2 separate regions of the Homo sapiens genome follow, and region 2 is linked to region 1. Evidence: promoter capture Hi-C in human tissues and cell types (Jung and others, 2019). All regions are on one chromosome and are shown on one strand. The core of a region is centred on a gene start or on the middle of the fragment in contact, and the rest is flanking DNA. Distances in the headings are between cores, read along the strand shown. Region 1 holds the start of DHX33 (DEAH-box helicase 33). Region 2 overlaps PITPNM3 (PITPNM family member 3).

Evidence for each region. Contacts are between HindIII fragments. The study calls those that stand out against the background at their distance.
Region 2: a contact is called between a fragment that was not itself captured here and the fragment with the promoter of DHX33 in region 1, in 1 of the 25 tissues and cell types used here (dorsolateral prefrontal cortex).

The regions. Positions count from the first base shown.
Region 1 is chr17:5,464,725-5,471,922 of GRCh38, reverse strand. DHX33 (DEAH-box helicase 33) reads left to right here and starts at 2,941. Exons shown (of 12, transcript NM_020162.4): 1 at 2,941-3,352. The coding sequence starts at 3,064. DHX33-DT (DHX33 divergent transcript) reads right to left here and starts at 2,831. Exons shown (of 3, transcript NR_135644.1): 1 at 2,784-2,831; 2 at 1,929-2,009; 3 at 1,563-1,831. DERL2 (derlin 2) reads left to right here. Exons shown (of 7, transcript NM_016041.5): 7 at 1-669. RefSeq lists enhancers at 2,848-2,917, 3,298-3,517, 3,307-3,889. The HindIII fragment of the contact is 7,597 bases long and covers 1,271-7,198 here.
Region 2 is chr17:6,517,991-6,525,188 of GRCh38, reverse strand. The region is part of intron 3 of PITPNM3 (PITPNM family member 3); the gene reads left to right. Among named protein-coding and RNA genes, the nearest start is that of PITPNM3, 35 kb to the left of the region's middle. The HindIII fragment of the contact is 4,432 bases long and covers 716-5,147 here.

The sequences.
Region 1 (7,198 bases), core at 1,692-4,191:
CTGGGGCCTCTGAAAATAAGGAAGCATTGGAGCTATTGCCATGTTGAGTAATGGGCTTCCTAGAACTATTGTCATCTATCCTGCCAGTGTTTTATGTTGTAGCTGTTTTTCTTTGACAGGTGAGTTCCAGCTATGTTGTTAGTCATGATCCTGCCATTATTTTCTGTGTTCTGTAGGATGTCTCCAGGCTACTTAAACATATTTTATGAGTTTGCAATAAAATTGTTGAATCTTGTATGATCAAGTCACTCCTCTGCTCAGAAATCCACAGTGACTTCTTAGTAAGCCCCTACATTATATGCATACTTGTTTTTTTCTTAACTTTACTCCCACTTCTACCTAACAGGGACCTCAACTTAAGTCTCTTCAGTTCTTCAAGGCCTGGCCTTGTTCCTGATTCCTCAAAAAATCTTGACTCTAAGGCCTATTTTATTGTCTGTCTCTGAATCCCTATAAAGCTTCAAGTCTGTATGACATTCTTAACGCCAAATTATATATTGTCTTGTACTGTTCCTAGCTGGTACATGTATATTAGTCTTGTCTCCCTCATGAGAATGTAAGCTCCTTAAGGGCAGGGACCATGTCTTAATTTTTGTATCCACCACAGTGCCTAGCACAGTGCTTGGCACATGGGTGCTGAATAAATACCTTTGTTTATTGATCAGCAAAGTATTATCTGGTATTTTTAATTATAGAGGGATTAAAGTGTATGCATGCAAGCTTGAGCCTAGTTGCTGAAGCTTGTGGTTGTCTCTGAAAGTGGGATAGAGGGAAACTGAACATGATCAAGGGCAGTAATTTGGTGGTCGGAAAAGCAAAGGTGACCACCAGCTGTTATGGTCGTGATCAGACCAGTTAAGTCCACAGACCATCCCAGACAAGTTAAAAATGAAATGTGTCTGACACTTCGTCGTTTGAAGGAAGAACCAGGATATTCTCTGAATAGTTATTAGCTTGTCAGTATCTACATATGAAAGCTGGTGAACCCCAAGAGACTTCTTCAGGAGAAACAGCAGATTTCAGTCTACCAATGGGAGAAATGTGAGCAGCATGGCTTGATGCATATATAGGACTTAATTTTTCCACTCTTTGGTCCTCTTAGCTTTGAGGCTATAGAATAGCTGGATCATTAGGCCAGAGATTATGGATGAGTTACCTACAGATTTGTTACCTACCTATGTGCTTTGTTTTGACAGTACTTTTTTTTTTTTTAAGTTTAAACCTGTATTTAACATTGACAGATAAAAATCTTCACTTTTGGCTTTTCTTGAGAAAATTGGAAGATCTGGCAATAATAGGTCTACATGACAGCCATTGCCTAGAAATGATTAGGGGCTGCATGTAGAGGTGGAATGTGCTCCATCAAGAAATAAGTCCACCCATTTACATTACCTAAATTATTGTAATCATTTGGAACATCGGACTCCTACCTTAAGTTACTCTGGAAAGCACACTGGGAAAAAGGACTGGGATGTCTTTACTCAAAGTCCATAATTTGAGAGTTAACATTTATTATCCCTTGTAGTTTTGGGTTGCCTTTCTAAATATTTCAGGGTAGGAAGTGAAAATTTGTCAGTTTATTCTTAAACACAAATCTGCTGCTGGTTCAACGTGCACATTTTCAGTAATGCCTGGTCACCAAACTGTCAGCAACTAGAGGAAAATTATCTCCGACCTGGAGCAAAGGGGAGGTTTTTTGTTTTTAGACTAGCTCTCTCACGAATCACGGGAAGGGAGATATTTAACAGGGCGAGTTTCATGGAAACGAGCTTCAGAAGATACCCTTCACATGAGCTGAAGCTTACGGTGTATTCTCTGGAAATCACATTTCCTGTAAGAGCAAACAGCTACTTGGCATTCTCCGTGGTAAATTAGCAAATCATCTAAGAACTTTTAGGAGGGTAAGGAAGAACTAGTTATAATCCTACTTTTTTCTGCTGCAGTTCTGAATCTTCACTGAAGTGTCTGTGATGGGGTTGCACAGCCATGTAGAGAACTTGAGAGTCTGGCTGGAATGGTTGGGGGAAAGGAAAGATAAAAGACAATTTTAATTTCATTGAACTCCCTCCTTTCTCTGCTTGTATTACTGGAGGCGACCACATCCGTTGGAGGAGTCATTTTCTGAGTTAAATTCATGTATATCAGAATTGGTTTTCCTTTCTGTAACACAAGATGATCACAAAATTATGATTTGGGGACATCTGAATGACTAAGATGACTCAATTTCTTAATCTGTAAATTAGAGATAATCTAATAACCAGTATATACCACATAACTTATAAGTTGTTTAGAGGATTAGACAATGCACGTTTGCGCTTCTCATTGATTTTACAGAATTAAGTACTTTCCTTGAAGAGTGACTGTTATTTGGACAGAGAAGGGGAAAACGCGGGTTTACTGAAAAGAAGTAATGCTACTAGAACAAAACAATGGGCGGGGCGCGGTGGCTCACGCCTATAATCCCAGCACTTTGGGAGGCCGAGGCAGGCGGATCACCTGAGGTCGGGAGTTCAAGACCAGCCTGACCAACATGGAGAAACCCTGTCTCTACTAAAAATACAAAATTAGACGGGCCCCGGTGGCGCACGCCTGTAACCCCAGCTACTTGGGAGGCTGAGGCAGGAGAATCGCTTGAACCCAGGAGGCGGAGGTTGCAGTGTGAGCCGAGATCGCGCCATTGCACTCCAGCCTGGGCAACAAGAGCGAAACTCCATCTCAAAAAAAAAAAATAAAACAATGAGAAAAACCTCGTTAACCAAGACTACAGTCCCACGGAACCTTACATCCTGTGTTTCCCGGTTGTAGCTCCGGGCCTTTTCCTGGTTGTACCTCAGGCCCTGCTTTTCCCACCCCCAGGAAGTGAAAGCCTTCCCAAGCCCCCAAGGCATGCTGGGAGATGCAGTCCCTTTTTCTAAAGACTGGGGCGGCCGTGAGGTCATCGGTGGTCGCCGGGAGCCGCCAGCACGTGGCGGCGAGGAAGGGGCGGTGTGCTCCTGTTGTCTGCACCTGAGAGGGGGCAGGAGCTCTCGGCGCTTGCGCCTCCCGCCGCGGTGCCCTCCCGACATGCCGGAGGAGGCGGGCTTCCCGCCGGCCAAGAGATTCCGGCCAGGCTCTGGACCTCCGAGCCGCGCTGGGTCCTTCCCTCCCGGGAGGCAAGTGGTGATGCTGCTGACTGCGGGCAGCGGCGGCAGAGGAGGAGGAGGAGGCCGGAGGCAGCAGCCGCCCCTGGCCCAGCCCTCGGCCAGTCCCTACCCTGAAGCTGTGGAGCTGCAGCGCCGGAGTCTGCCCATCTTCCAAGCGCGGGGGCAACTGTTGGCCCAGCTCCGAAACCTGGACAACGCGGTCCTCATCGGTGAGTGGCCGCGCCGGCGGGCTCTTCCTTGCACTTCGTCCGTGGCTTAGCTAGAGCAGTTTTTCTTACATGCCTCTCAATCCCTTTCGTTCGTGGCTTCAACAAACCTGAATACCTTTTCTGGGCCAGACCTGGAGAGGGGCCTCGAAGAAGAGTCCGGCAGCCCTGCCCTGGAGGCGCTGGACAGCCCGGTGAGAGTGACCAACGTGTGTAGGCAAAGACTCACCTTCCGCGTAAAAGGGTAGAGAAACGTACCGGGGGCTTGCGGATCTTAGAAGAGTGGATCTGACCCGGTTTGTGAGGAGGCGGCTGGGGAGGTCGTGTGGGAGGGAGGGCATTCTAGGCAGGGGGGAAAGCCCGTTTGAGAGATGGGAACCTGAACACATTCCGGTCGAAAGGGAAGGTGTAGTTTCTGGTGCATGAAAAGAGGCAGAGTTGTGGGGCAGGGACTGATTTCATGGGGCTTATGATCCCCAACGTGTTAGAGGAGATACTGAAGGACGGAAAGGATGAGCAGCCAAAGAGAGGAAGGAGACCCATGAGTGCTGCTAGTCAAAGGAATAGAGAGTGAGCAGATGCAGCAGTCAAGTCCGGTTATACTGGACTTGGATGTGATGCCCACTGGATTTGGATGTGAGCTATTTGTAAGAGTTAAAGAAAAAGGAAAGAAACACGAAACGCGGCTGGCAGTTAAAGACAGCTTTTCTTTAGTTAAAACCTGAGAGGCGCTCCTGGCCGATTTCGGTCAGGAGCCCTTTCTCTTACAGACTAAGAGTATATATTGGTGTTAGGGTGAGGGGGCTTATCACAAGCTTGGAATGTTTATATGTGTGGAGAAGTTTTTGGCAGGGTTGGACTCTTTGGGAGCAGGGGATGTTATCTTGGGGCAGACATTTTTCCGGCCCGAGGGGGTTTATCTCCCGGCTGGCATATTCCCGGCTGGCATATTCCCGGCCAGAGTGGGGTTATCCCTTAACATGTCTCTGGTCGGGGAGGAGTTTGGAATGTTTCTGGCTGGAGATGTTATTTGTGGTTTATGGTCGTGCTGACCTTAGCCATTAGGCTGATACCTTTTGGATTTAGGCGGTTTTTTATTAAGGTGAACTTTTGAATGAGGGGCTTGTCCAAGATGGTGATGTTCCTGCTTTGTCAATCCAGACCCTATAGTTATAAAAAGGAGGAGGGACGGCATGTTCTTTCTGGCTACTTCCTGCAACGAGGGGATGGAGAGTTTCCTGGTCTCGGGTTGACTAGGAGCAATGCCGTCTGTAGATGTTTTTGGGTAGTTGTTTGTGAAATTGCCATGATCCTGTCAGTTAAAAATCTTTGAAAAAGATTAATTAGGCAGGGTAAGAACATTAGTTCCAGGCATATTATTAGGAGAGGGCCCAGGAATGGGATGACCCATGCTATGATTTTGTTTTCAAACCAAGAGTCCATTTGGTGGTTTTGGTACTCCCTTAGCTTTTTAGCCTTTTCTTTACGTTTTTTAGCAGCGCTTTTTACTAGGCCCGATTGGTTGATATAGAAAGAGGCGTGAGCCACCGCACCTGGCCCCCTCAAAACAATTATTTAACCTTTTAACGTAGGTAAAAATGTGCATTCTTATCCCTCCTGATAATCTTTTTACCGAAAGTGTACTTTACTTTCCTTACACACCTTGCACATAAAGTGTCTCTTCAATAGTTTTAAATACATGTTACACTGTTAACTTTTAGCAACCTTTACCTTTGTTGAAAACCTTGGTAAGTTCGGGATTTTAATTATGTGCTAGGTGTACAGCCTAGGACTTAGACAGAAGTGCAGTTAAGGTCTGGCTTATTTCAGCATTTAGCTCCATGTGTCCTAGGTTTTACCTAGCTGCAAAGCAGGCAAGTTCTACAGCTAAGAGTTATGGTGACATTTTATAAAGCATTCAGGAGGCCTAATCACTTTTAAATTGTAAAACATTTCTTGCATACATTTCCTCTCATAAAATTTTTCATGACTTTCACAGACTATCTCTGACACTATTGATCGTGGATCCATCCCATCGAGAGCTATTTCAACAAAGCTGTGTGGGTAACAGCTGATTTGTCATTGAGCTGAGGGCTGAAAGCAGGGGGAAGAGGCTTCTGTTTTGAGGAAAAAGGAGGGAAGCTGAGAGAAACTTTATGGATGCTGCTCGATTTAGGATGGGGTTATGTGTGGATGAATCCACCCATCCTCATAAGTTGAAAATATCCTAAGTTGGAAATGCATTTAATATGCCCAGCCTACTTTCAGTGTGCTCGGAACATGTACATTAGCCTATGGTTGGGTGATATTATCTAACATGAAACCTATTTTATAATAAAGTCTTGAATATTTCATGCAATTTATTGAATACCATACTGAAAGTGACAGTTGTGTGGGTACTCAAAAGTACAGTTTCTACTGTACGATTTTGACTTTTGCTCCATCCTGAAGTCAAACAGTTCTAAGACAGGGACCATCTGTATTCAGAGGTTGAGGGGAAGAACTCAGTAGGGAGGGAGGCAGAAGATAGAATCGAGCTAACAGAGCAAAGATCAGGAGGCATGGGGGACGGGGGAACTTGGCCACAAGGGCTAGATGCAGGGCTGGTCTGGAAGAGGAGGAAGGCTAAGAGGCTGCAGGGCTAGAGAACGGATGTAAGGATGGTGCACTGCAGAAGGGCTTCTAGGGGCAGTTAGGGAGAGACCACATTTTAGAACCCCACTTCTGTGAGACAGGTTCAGGAGCCCTGCTCAGAATGGGAGTCACTGGGCTTCAAGTGGGCCCTTGGGGAGGATGGAGACGAGACAGGCTGCAAAAACAAGAAAAAAGATCGATGGCAGTAGTGGTGCCTAGGTGCATTTCGGCTACACTATAAACTCAGGTTTGCTTCTGCACAGCCAGATTATAGGTGGAACATCCCAAATTTGAAAATCCGAAGTCAAGAATGGGCTCCAAGGAGCATTTCCTTTGAGTGTCATATCAGATGCTCAAAAAGTTTTGGATTTGGGAGCATTTAGGACTTCAGATTTTCACATTTAAAATGCTCAGCCAGTAAGTATAATGCAAATATTACAAAACTTGAAAGAATCCAAAGTTCAAAACACTTCTGGTTCCAAGCATTTTGTATTTTACTTTAGCAACGCTCTGTTGCCCTGGTATAGGAGCATGAAAGATAGAGACATGGATCAAAGTTTGGGGTTTTGCCTAGTGGATTCAGCAGGAAGATTGCAGAATAATCAAATCCTTTGTCTGATTCTTATCTGGGTCAGGAAGGATGAGCAGTCAGAGGGGGCTGACAGACTGACAGGGAAAAAAACCCACAAATCATGGGACTGGAGGACTTTTTGAAGTCAGAGAGGCCTGGTGGTAGCTAGAGGGAGGGGAAGGAAGCGCAGGTTTACTGAGTTCTTTGCTCTAATCAGGCACTGTTAAAGGAATTCACACAGGGTAGGAAGTAACATTTACTGCGTGCTTATTGTATGCAAAATACTCAAGTACACGAGAGGGACATTCAGAGCACTGCCCTCTGGGAGCTTCCCTTCTGGTGTTGGAGGAGGACGGACACATTTAAACGCTTCTGTACAACACAGGATGGTCAGTGCTGGAAGAGAGATGAACAAGGCACTACGGAGCCCAGAGGAGGGCCACTGTGCAGCCAGGGGAGCGTGTTTGAGGCCTAACTCATCTTAGAGTTTGCGAGGCAGGCAGTGTGAGGGCAGGTGTTCTGCCCATAGTGTGGGCAGAGGCAGAGGGTTTGAAGGGAGGCAGCAGGCTGGGGAGTGGCCAGGAGTTGAAGGCAGCAGTGCATGAATGGATGTCTCTTCATGTCAGTCAGTATGCAGAAATCTA
Region 2 (7,198 bases), core at 1,682-4,181, 1.1 Mb before region 1:
GGGGACTTCTGTGGGGTTTTCTGTGGCATAAAAGCTCCAGCCTACTTCAACAGAGCTTCCTTTGTCCACAGAATGACTACCCCAGTGGCACGGGTGGTTAATGGCAGGTGCCTGGGTCCAAGCTCCTTGGACTGCCAGGTCTTTGGTATTGGAATCTGCTGAATAAGGAGGGTGACAGTTGGAGGAGCCTTTGAGCAGGACAGGAGCTGAGGTCTAAGGGGAGAGAGAAGGACAGCAGTGAGAATCAGGATTTCCTTTGGTGGAGTTGTTGAAGAAGGAGTATATGGCTGGGGATTAATCCAGGAGGCTTTCTATGGAGAAGAGTTTTGACCAGGAGTTTGATCAGCCTACAAAGCAGGCTGATTCTTTTTGGCATCCATCTATCCATCTGTTTGGCTATTGTTCATCACTAACAGGCTCATTGAGCACCTACTGTGTATAAGTGCTTGGCAGGAGCAACCAAAGGTGATTCATCTGAGGCCTCTGTCTTGTGATGTGTGACACGTATAAGTCAAGATATGTGGATCAGGCTTAAGCTGAGGGTGTTAGCTCAGAAGGGAGAGGCATGACTTTCAGGAGGCAGGAGAGGGGATCCAGGAAGGGCTCCTGACAGTGAAGCAATGGGGCAAGGCTTTAAAATTCAAACGGACAACGTGGCTGAAGATGTCGTAAAATCTGAGCTCACATATGGGAAACTGAGCTCAGAGATCTTCAGCTGAGGGCTGTATTTGATTAATGTTACAATGGAGTGAGAAGCAGAGCCAGGGCTAGACCCACATCTGGGATGCAGGGTGCTAACCTCTGTACCTGTTACCCTCAAGTTGGTTTCTTCCATCCCTCCTTCCCCACCCCACATACCACTCCTCCTACTTTATTTCTTCTTCATCTTCTCTTCTCCTTCCTCTATTGCTCCTGTCATTCGCAGTCGTGCTCTGGCCCAGAGTTGCCGAGTGGGCAAGGCCATGCTCTCAGGAGGCATTCAGTGAGATGGTCCTGGCCCAGCCCACGGGAACGGCTGCCTTGGTAGTGACCATCTTGCCCTGTTCCTGTTCCTTTTCTCATCCCCATCCTTGCCTCCTTGGTTCAGAGCTCTCCTTTTGCCAAAGCACTCATCCTGAGAAATGGGCAGGCCTGGTGTGGTCATCCCATCTAACCAACAAAGAACCCAGGCTCAGAGGAGCCACGTCTTGCCCAAAGTCCCCCAAGCTGGTGGCAACATCAGGCTCAGATTCCTGGTCTTCTGATTCCCAGTCCAGGGCTTCACCTCCCGGACTGGACTAAGGCTTGGCACAGTTCTGGGCCCCAACAAAGTCAGGCTCAAGGAACCATGAGTCTGAAAGGAAAGGCACCCTGTACCACTGTCCCATCCACGAGAAGGGGGGGCTCTGACTCTGGCCCCCAAGGGCAATCCAGAGACAACTTACCAGTCGTCATAGCCATGTATCTGCCAGTGGGTCCTTTGCTGCTCTTTCCTTCATCCCAAGAACCCCAGAGGGGGCCTAGAAGGGGTCATGGATTCTAGGTCCTGCCCCACAATAGTGCTTGTAGCCTTGAAAAGACAAATATGGATTTGTACCATCCATTTGGCCATCCCCTTCCCATCCCCCATCCCCACTTGTCTGCTAAAGAATGTATGACTCAGACCCAGTGAGAGCTAAGGGCAGTCGGTCAGGTGAGCAAGAGGCAGAGTGAGCTGGGAGGGCACTGGAGGGCAGGGGACGAGGAAGCACAGCGGGAGGTCCAGGACAGAGGCAGAAGCTGCAGTGCTGGAGTCAGAGAGGCCTGGGTTTGAACTTCAGCCATGCCACTCCATGGCTGTGTGGTCAGGAAAAGTCACATCACCTCCCTGGTCTTCTGTTTCTTCATCTGCAGAGTGGAGGACTAGTAAAAAAGCTGTGATGATTAAATGAGATGATATTTGCAAAGTGCATTCGATAGCAGGTCATTCTTATAATGATGGAAGGGGGAGAAGCATGACCAATGTTGCACAAGTGGCAGCCCTCACAAATGCTTCCTGATGCTCATGAATGAAGGGCAGTGCTTACCTGAGTCCGAGGGTTGGTACTATTTCCTCCCAGTACAGAATGGGGAGCGGGAAGAAGAGAGGAGAGAGGGTAAGAGGAAGAGGAAACCAGCTGGATTTCCAGCTCCTTCCAAGTCCCATTCTCGTGTGAATTCATAATGTGAATTCCCACAACATGACAGAACACACACATTCATTTCAATAATCATTTATGGAGCCATCACAGGGGCTCAACCCTGTGCTCAATGTAGGGGGAATAAAGACAAGCAGGATGGCCTTGTCATTCCTGAGAAGCTTGCAGCAGAGTGGAAGCGACAGATCAGAGCCAGGGGTTACTATGCAGTAAGGCAGGCTGGGACAAGGCTCTGAGAGGCTCTGGGAAGTATCTTGGGGAAAGGAAGATCCGTGAACTCTTCCTGGAAAGGAATGCAATGGAAATTGGTGGCATAGACAGAGCAGATCCTCTTGTCTTCTTCAAGTTGCCTGCCCTTAGACACAGGACTCATTCCAGGCCCCCCTCCCCTGCCTCATGCTGGACGCTCTGGCCAGTCACACTGCCTCCATGGGTGCTCCAGCCACCTCGATGACAACTCCTTGCTCTATCTCCAGCCAGGACCTTTCTTCTGGGCTCCACACTCGCATTTTTGGTAACCTCCTGCTAACCTCTACCTGGATGTCCTAAAGACTCCTTATGCTCCACAAATTCCAAATGGAGCCAACCTTCTTCCCTTTAAGCCTGAATTCTGTTTTGTATTTTACCTTTTCTCTCCCTAACCATTTAAGTCATATATTTCATCAGCACTTTCAGACTGCTCTCATCCCTCCAGTTCTCAAGGGTGTTAATTCTGCTCTGTGTGTGTGTGTGTGTGTGTGTGTGTGCGCACACTAAATATACCTCATGGGTCTTCTTTCTCATTTGTGATTGTGAACTCATCTTGGTCACACATACCTCTCTTTTCTTTTTGGGGGAAGTCTTTTGTGCCCTAGGTTGGGAAAATGTCCTCATAAAGACCGGCCTTGTTTCCTGCTGGGCCTGAGTGTTTCACTAATCTTGAATATTTTATAGGCTAAATTTATAGTTTAGAGTTTCCATTCTACATGGGTGGTGTAAATTTAGACCCTACACCCAGAAGTGGCACAGGCTTAGGGTTTTAATTACTCATGTGTGAATTTTCTCTCTCACTGTCTGTGAATGGTTTCTTTGCCGCTTCCGCAAAGAAGGTTCTTTTTGTAAGTTCCTGTAAGGATGGAATGGCCCTTCAAGTGTCCCTGCTATAAAGTGGGTGCCACATCAGCTCCTTGCCATCCACAGGCTGAGGTCAGGTTGGTGGAGTTCACAGTGTGGTTTTTAGGCTCTGGCCCTGGAGCCTCTTTCTTTATTCGTCTGACTCATGGGATTCACGGATCTCCTCTATCTCAGCTTCTGCTTTCGTCTCTGGATTCCTTTTTTGTTTCTGGCACTGTGTATTATACATTTTTTATTTTAAGCTTGGTTATATATTTATCTTTTTTGGCAACATATTGCCCAGTATATATATATATTTTTTTTTAATGGAAAGGGATCCTTCAGCACCAGCTGAACACCCAGAAGCGTGTTGTTATTACTATTATTTTACAATTGTTCAAATATTATTATTTATTATACTATTATTATTTTTGCAATTGTTTGTCTTGTTATTTTTGTGTAACATTTCTTATTGTGGTAAAATATGCATAACATAAAATTTACCATTTTAACAATTTTTTTTGTTTTTGAGACGGAGTCTCGCTTTGTCACCCAGGCTGGAGTACAGTTGTGTGATCTTGGCTCACTGCAACCTCTGCCTCCCAGGTTCAAGTGATTCTCCTGCCTCAGCCTCCCAAGTAGCTGGGATTACAGGCGTCCGCCACCACCCCCAGCTAATTTTTGTATTTTTAGTAGAGACAGGGTTTTGCCATCTTGGCCAGGCTAGTCTTGAACTCCTGACCTCAAGTGATCCACCTGCCTCGGCCTCCCAAAGTGCTGGGATTACAGGTGTGAGCCATCACACCCGGCCCATTTTAACGGTTCTTAAGTATACAGGTCAGTGGCATTAAGTCCATTCACATCGCTCTGCAACCATCACCACCAACCATCTCCAGAACTTGGTCACTCTCTGCAACTGAAACTGTGCCCGTCAAACACCAACTCCCCATTTTCCTTTCCCCAGCCCTTGGTAAACATCATTCTACTTTCTGTCTCCATGAATTTGACTTCTCTAGGTACCCTACATATGTGGGATCATTCAGTATTTGTCCTTTTGTGTCTGGCCTGTTTGACTTAGCATAATGCTTTCGAGGTTCGTTCATCTTGCAACATGAATCAGTACTTTATTCCATTTTGGGGGCTGAGTAACTTTCCCTTGTATGGATATACCACATTTTGTTTATCCATTCATCTGATGATGGACGTTTGGGTTGCTTCCACGTTTTAGCTACCATGAATAATGCTGCTACAAACATTATAAATATCCACCTGATTTCTTAAATGTATTCTCATTGGAAAAAATCAAACACAACAAATAAAACCAAAGTCTCCTTTAGTTATTCCTTCAATTACAGACCTCCTTGTGGAGTTGATCAACGTATCTCTCTAGAGGTCGATGGTATTAGACATTAGTGCTGCAACTTACCTCTTCCCTCACATTTAACAGAAGATCTTGGAGAGCTTTTCATATGGGTATATATAGATTCACTCTGTTCTCTTTACCTGTACTATAATATTCTCTACTATAGTTGTACCATAATTTATTTAACCATTCTGCAGTGATAGACATTGGAATCTTTCATTGTTATAAGAATGCTTTATGGGTTTAAAGTATAAGCACTGAAAATTGCAATAGATACTGTCAAATGGTTTTCCAAAAAACAGTGCAAATTTATATTTGCACACCAACCATGGATTAAGTTAGCCATTTCCCCACAATGTGTTACCAGATTTGATATTATCAAACTTCAACATTTTATGTAATGGTCGGGTAAAAACGTTTTCTTGTTTTGCTTTGTCTTTACCCAGTTTCTAGTGAGATTGAACATCTTTTCATAAATGTGTTGACTGATCATATTTTCTTTCCTCTGAATTTCTTAAACATAATTTTTGCCAATATGCTATTGGATTGTTTATCCTTTTTATTGGATTTTAGGAGATCTTCATATATATTCTGGAAGTAAATTATTAGTCTGCTATATATTTGAAATATTGCTACTTTGGTGACATTTCCTGTTGGTTCTAATAGTTTGTCAGTTGATTCTCTTGGGTTTTTTCTAGTTACAGCATCACATCATTTACAAATCTTTTCTTTCTTTCTTTTTTTTTTGGAGACAGAGTCTTGCTCTGTCACCCAGGCTGGAGTACAGTGGTGTGATCTTGGCTCACTGCAACCTCTGCCTCCTGGGTTCAAGTGATTCTCCTACCTCAGCCTCCCGAATAGCCAGGATTACAGGCGCCCGCCACCATGCCTGGCTACTTTTTATATTTTTAGTAGAGATGGGGTTTCACCATGTTGGCCAGGCTGGTGTCGAACTCCTGACCTCAAGTGATCTGCCCGACTTGGCCTCCCAAAGTGCTAGGATTACAGGTGTGAGCCACTGCATCCAGCCTTGTTTACAAATCTTTTTTTTTTTTTTCTGAGACGGAGTCTCACTCTGTCGCCCAGGCTGGAGTGCAGTGGCGCTATCTCGGCTCACTGCAAGCCCCGCCTCCCAGGTTCACGTCATTCTCCTGCCTCAGTCCCCCAGTAGCTGGGACTACAGCTGCCCGCCACCACGCTCAGCTAATTTTTTTTTTTTTTTTTTTTTTTTTTTGAGACGGAGTCTCGCTCTGTCGCCCAGGCCGGACTGCGGACTGCAGTGGCGCAATCTCGGCTCACTGCAAGCTCCGCCTCCCGGGTTCACGCCATTCTCCTGCCTCAGCCTCCCGAGTAGCTGGGACTACAGGCGCCCGCCACCGCGCCCGGCTAATTTTTTGTATTTTTAGTAGAGACGGGGTTTCACCTTGTTAGCCAGGACGGTCTCGATCTCCTGACCTCGTGATCCGCCCGCCATGGCCTCCCAAAGTGCTGGGATTACAGGCATGAGCCACCATGCCCGGCCTACAAATCTTAACAGTTATATTTTTGCCAGCATTTACTCTCCTTTCTTATTTTTCCTTTTAAACTGCATTGCATGGGATCTCCAGGTCAATGCAGAGTGACAAGCGGTAGCGGGCTTTCTGGTTGGATCCTGACTGTAGTGCTGTGATGGAAACGTTCCAATGTTTTACCAACAAACATGGCCCTCGCCCTAGGATTCCAGAAATGCCCTTCATCAAGTTGAAAACAATTAACTTCCGAAAGTTATGACTTCTTTCTCATTCCCCTCATTGTTCATTTGTGTTTTTCCCCATCCCTCCATCTTTCTCTTTCTCTCTCATTCTTAGTAAGTTTTGCCAAAGGCTTACCTATTTCGATGGTCTTTTCAAAGAAATAGCTCTTACTTTTATTAATCAGTTCTATTGTCTACCGTTTTCTCTACTTAGTTTTTGTAAATTAACATTGCTTTTATTTCATTAATTATTTCCTTCTACTTCCTTGGAATTTATGTGATTTGTGCTTTTCTATTTCTAGAGATAAGAGCTTTTTAATCTTATTTTTTAAATGACACACGCACTGTTCCCTTCCAAGGGAGGGTCCTAGCAAGGTTACCTTTTTTTTTTTTTGCTTTTTTACCCATTACCTTTTTTTGGTAAAATTTATAAAAGTAAGCTTTTTTGGGGGGATAATCTTTTCCTTAAAAGGGGACCCCAAACTTGTATAACCTCAGTCCCCAGAAAACCTGCATCCAGCCATGTTGGACACATTCCACAGGGTTTGGATAAGTAGCCCCCTCACTGTCCATCATGTCTACATAGTTCAAAACCTCCACGTTCTCCTCTTTACCCAAAGAGCTGTTGAGAGCCATGTACAAGAATCCTGACAAATAGATTTTTTTCTTGTTAATTAGCAATTTGATTCCACTATGATCGGACAATGTGACCCTAACGTGATATCTTTTTGAAATTCTTTCTTGTCTAAACCCTGGTCTAGTGTGGGTGTGTGAATGTTCCTTATGAGTTAAAAAATATATACATTATCTATATACTGTATATGTTGGGTTATAAATTCTCTATAAAATTAAAGA